Linked DNA regions of Homo sapiens: region 1 is linked to region 2. Evidence: promoter capture Hi-C in 16 types of primary human blood cells and fetal thymus (Javierre and others, 2016). All regions are on one chromosome and are shown on one strand. Each heading gives the region's core, a stretch centred on a gene start or on the middle of the fragment in contact. The rest is flanking DNA. Distances are from core to core; before and after follow the strand shown.

Evidence for each region. Contacts are between HindIII fragments. The CHiCAGO score rates a contact against its expected background, and 5 or more counts as called.
Region 1: a contact is called between a fragment that was not itself captured here and the fragment with the promoter of SP140 in region 2, in 5 of 17 cell types (naive CD4 T cells, non-activated CD4 T cells, total CD8 T cells and 2 more). The highest score is 7.6, in naive CD4 T cells.

What each region holds. Positions count from the first base shown.
Region 1 is chr2:230,355,331-230,358,030 of GRCh38, forward strand. It overlaps SP140L (SP140 nuclear body protein like), which reads left to right. Exons shown (of 19, transcript NM_138402.6): 3 at 2,475-2,637. Among named protein-coding and RNA genes, the nearest start is that of SP140L, 29 kb to the left of the region's middle. The HindIII fragment of the contact is 5,058 bases long and covers 1-2,700 here.
Region 2 is chr2:230,224,388-230,227,087 of GRCh38, forward strand. It overlaps SP140 (SP140 nuclear body protein), which reads left to right and starts at 1,349. Exons shown (of 27, transcript NM_007237.5): 1 at 1,349-1,516. The coding sequence starts at 1,458. It also overlaps a transcript of SP110 not described here. RefSeq lists enhancers at 1,229-1,438, 1,669-1,718, 1,789-1,868, 1,889-1,938. The HindIII fragment of the contact is 6,572 bases long and covers 1-2,700 here.

The sequences.
Region 1 (2,700 bases), core at 11-2,510, 130 kb after region 2:
GTATCCTTTAAAGTAGCACCAGAGAGAATAAAATAACTAGAAATAAATTTAATGAAAGATGTGCTTGATTTTTAAAATTAATCTAAATAAGTGGAGAAGCAAACGATGCTAACAGATTGCAAGCTCAATATTGTTGTCAGCTCCCCCAAATTTATCTATAGTTTCAAATCAAACCCAAGAAAAATCCAAAAGGCTTTTCTCATAGAAATTGACAAATTGATTTGAAAAGATATGTGGAAAATCAAAGAATCTAGAAAGTCCAAGACAATCTTTTCTAATTGACTTCAAGACTTTCTTTAAGCCATGGTATTCAACACAAAATCATATCAGCATAAGGATAGACAAACAGATCAATGGTATGGCATAGAAAGTACAGATATAAACCCATGTTCATATTGTAAATTGCTTTTTGAATATTTTCGTGACCTTGGAGTGGCAAATTCTTCTTAGTACACTAAAGTCATTAATTATAAAAGAAAAAATAATAAATTGGACTTCATCAAAATTAAAGATTTTTTCCTATCAAAAGACATAATTAAGAAAATAAAAGGGAAGCTACAGACTGGGTGAAAATATTTACAATACATAAATCAGACAAAACACTTCTATCCATAATCTGTAAAAGGACTCCTACCTGTCAATAAATAAAATAAAATTCTATAATATAAATGGGTCAAACATTTGAACAGACACTTCACCAAAAAATAAATAAATTGCCAGTAAACACATGAAAACATGCTTGACATAATTTCCTGATTAAAGAAATACAAATTAAAACTAAAATTAGCTATCACATCGTACACACTGGAATGGCTAAAACTAGAAAGGCCATCACTGGTAGTCTTTGCAAAAACAGTTTGGCAGGTTTTAAAATGGTTAAATGTACTCTTACACAATGACCCAGTAATTCCATTCCCACATATTTACCCAAGAGAAATGAAAGCATTTTGCCACAAAAAGACTTGCACAAGAACAGCAGTTTTATTCATACTAGTCTCAAACTGAATCCACTCCAATGTCCATCAAGAGAAAAATGAGTACGCAGACTGTGGTAGATTCACACAATGGAATACCACTCAACAACAAAAATGAACAAACTAACTGTTCAACACAGCAACATAGATGATAAGCAAAAGAAGCCAGACACAAAAGCATGTATATGTTTTGCTCATTTATATGAAATCCAAGAGCAGGCAGTATTAACATCTGACAGAATAAATGACAGCAATGGTTGCCCCCTGAGAGGCTGCCTGGCTGCATGTGTTCAGTATGCAGGTTCACAGGCAGTATATGCATTGCTCTGTTCATTTTTCAAATAACAAATCAGTTTTTAGCTGTGTGTCTCCCTTCAAATCTCCACTGTTTCTTCCGAATTCTGTAGGGCACCACGATTGCTTTCCTAACCTCTAGGAGCATCCCCTACCTACTATTGCAACTAGCACTTTTCTGACCACTTTTTGTCTTCAAGGTTTTATTTGAAATCTCTTATGTGCTCATTGTCCTCCACCATTCTCTTTGTCACTGTAAATCTAATTCCTTTATTATCATTTTAATGAACTTTAACCAGAAACTTTTTTTTACAGGAATTCAAAACAATAATGCGACATTGTTTCCTGCTTTATGTTGTGTACTGGGAAGTGCCAATAATTCTCTTCTGGTTGGATAAAAAGAGCTCCCAAGTTTTCATAACATTTAGGAATACTGAGATGTTGATTAAAACATTATCAGAGCAATAACATGATCAACTAAGAACTAGAATTAGAGACTCAGCTTTAAAATTGCTTTAAAAGGAAACGGCAGCGATTTCTGAAATTCAGATGCCTAAAATGATTAACTGTATATAGCAATAGTATGGACAGATTTATATTAACACAAAGCAGAACCAGATGTTCCAGGAGATATCACTGATATTCTCATGAAATTCTCAATAATGTGGTATTATTATCATTATTAAACCACATTGTATTATTTATGAATTAATTTTATGATATATGATGGTATTTCCTTCCTAGCAGCTACAGATTAGAGAAGGACATCTTATTTTTATTTTGTCAAATTCTCTCAGTTGTTGATTAAGCTGCATTTTCAAGGTTAGATTTTTATTTATATTCCATTGACTTTCATTTCTCTGTGGATGACCTGCTTACTCCATCTAGATTCTGTAGGAATTCAATATTTTTATTTTGAAAAATATTCCAGATATGGTTAGGTGAAGATATCTTTACAATGACTTTGTTCAGTTTAGACTGGGCTTTTTCAGTGCCCTCTATATTAGTCTTGCATAGGCTCCATGATATCTTCTATTACATTTTTGTTTGTTGCTTCAATTCCATTTATTCTGGGCTCTACTGAGGACCACCTATTTTATATATGTTGGTTCTTCATAGCTTATCCGTTATACATAAAATCTTACCATCTCCACAAACATCTCAGAATCTTGATGACCATTTTCATTTGGTGTCCTTTTTCCTTAGGCTGTTCACGGAAGACCAGGATGTAGATGAGGGACTTGTCTATGACACTGTATTCAAGCACTTCAAAAGACATAAGCTGGAGATATCAAATGCAATAAAAAAGACATTTCCATTCCTTGAGGGCCTCCGCGATCGGGAACTCATCACAAATAAAATGTTTGAAGTAAGTAAAGTTTATTTCACAACCTGGCAGATATGCTTTCATATTTTACAAGTATTTCTGTAA
Region 2 (2,700 bases), core at 99-2,598:
CTAACAGAAGCCCAGCATACTTTTCCTTCTTGTTTTAAAGAGGGAGGGAGAGGGAGGGAGAGAGAGGGAGAGGGAGGGAGAGGGAGGGAGAGAGAGGGAGAGAGAGGGAGACAGAGGAGAGAGAGGACAGAGAGAGAGAGAGAGAGGAGAGAGAGAGAGATACTGGAAAAGGTGTCCTCATCAGTGTTCTAGAGTTTGTCTCAACCAGATTGGTGTTTGTTCCTTTGGTAGAAAGAAAGCAGAAGTGTGGAAGGGGTAGAAATTTCTTGCACTCTGTATTTTGCAAACTTATGTATGCAAATTTCCTTGCATATGTGTAATGAACCAGAAAAAGTAGGATTCAGGAGCACATGTTTTGGAAAAATACTGCTTTGCCTCTGGCTTTTCAATCCTCACTACTGTTCTGTCACTGGCCCTGGATTCTACCCATACCCTGGCTCTCATCAGCCCCCTGTCTTTGACCCATTTTTCTGCCTGGATTTCTAGTCCTGTGGTTATATTTTTTATATTTGCCCTTTGCTTCCATTTGTTTATCACTCGACTTTATGCTGATATAGTGTGTTTTTGTAAATTGTTTCAAATCCTTTACAGAATGAGGGCTGGGTATAAATGAAAAATTGTGTGCAAACATAAATGTAATACAGCTATCCTCCTGTATCATATTGTCCTTGAAGGTCTAGATAATCTCAGCTCCAAACCCTTTCCCCATCCAGTGAGAAGGCTGTCACTCTCCTCAAGATTTCAGTGAAATGGTTGAAGCTCATTTTTTTCCCAGTCACCCCTGGCTGCTGTTGTAAAGTGCCCACATATTTGAGAAAACTTAGAATTGCACCTCATTTCTCTGCCCAACCTCAGCACTTGCCTTTGGCTGGAGGAGTTGAGAGAGTTGTCTTTTACCTCTGTCTGCTTTCATGGAGTGCTAAGAGCATCTCCCCCACTTTCTAATGCATGCTATTTCAGTTCTCCCTGGCCCCATGTCCAAACACTGGGCCTAAGCCATCCAGCCCAGGCTCACTAAGGTGCATGGCCAGCCCTGGAGCCTGACTGAAGATTTGAAATGTCTGGTCTTCACTTGTCCTTCTCAGCCACCTCAGCAAGGGGTGGGGACAAATACAGAGTTTACTTCCTCCTCATGATGCCACCTTACCTCAAAACAACTTTGATCTGCTTGAGTTGAATGACTTTTCCACCCTCTTTCCTTGGCAGGAACAAGTGACCCTGTCTTCCGTGGCCTCGTGGGGCTGGCTCTGCTCCTCCTCCCTTGACTGAGAGACGTCATGGAGATTGGGTGGAGGGAGGACTGTAGAGTTGGTGCACCCACGTCAGCTAGTTAGGCAATTTCACTTTTCTTTTCCTCTTTGACTGAGCACCGAGGGGCAGTTGGCAGCTTCACCTCAGAGCTGCAGGAAGGAACGGGGCAGTGAAAATCGAATCGGGTGTGATCCTAGGCCAAGCTCATGGCCCAGCAGGGCCAGCAGGGGCAGATGGCAAGTGGAGACAGCAATCTCAACTTCAGGTGGGTCATCGTCTCCTTTCCCGTCTGTCCTTCATCTCTGGTAGGGTTCCCTTTCATACTTGTTATTTAATGTCTACCCAGCTTCACTCTACAGGTATACAATAGAATTCAGTTACAAATAAATAACGAGGCAATCAGATTTTTTAAATTGCAGGGATTGGCTGTTGGAGAAACTCAAGGATGCCGTGACTCACATCATCTTCCTATTCTCTTACATCTGCAAATGGCTGGACTGGAGCTGTTTGAACATCATGCCTGTTCTGAGGCTTTGTGTAGGATTGGATGATTCCCCGTGACCTCTGAACCCTCTCTTCTCCCCCAGGCCTCCTTTATCCCCACTCCAAAAGACAACTCTGTCTAAAAAGGATCTTTTTAGAAGAATTAAAATCCAAACGCCTGTCTGTTGTCACACTTTCCAGGCTGTGTAGTTGGGGACCGGTTCTGCTCTGAGCCCATCTATGTGGCTCTTAGCCCTAGAATCACTTCAGGATCTCTGAATACTTGGTAGGAGGAAGTGAAAGCAGATGAGACCCAACAAAAAAGGCAAGCAGGTAGAGAGTGAGTGCTGCTTCTGCTTTTTTTATTCTTCTGTTCTGGTATTTTTTACATATCTGGTCAGAGAAGCCTGGAAATCATCTTTAAAAAATGTAAGACAATGAGACCAGTCTGACCAACGTGGAGAAACCCTGTCTTTACTAAAAATACAAAATTAGCTGGGTGTCATGGTGTATGCCTGTAATTCCAGCTACTCAGGAGGCTGAGGCAGGATAATCGCTTGAACCAGGGAGGCAGAGGTTTTGGCGAGCCAAGATCACACCATTACACTTTAGCCTGGGCAACAAGAGTGAAATTCCATCTCAAAAAAAAAAAAAAAAAAAGACAAGTACATCAATACGGTCATTTCTTCTTATCTGTGGATTCTGTATCCATGGATCTAACCAACCATGAATGCAAAATATTTTCTAAAAATTAAAAACATAAATAACAACAATAAAAAGTAATATAAAAATTTAAAATACAGTATAACTATTTGTATAGCATTTACATTGTATTAGGTATTATAAGTCTAGAGATGATTTAAAATATACAGGAGGATGTGCATAGGTTATATGTAAATACTACACCTTTTATATCAGGGACTTGAGCATCCATGGATTTTGGTATCCATGGAGGGTCCTGGAACC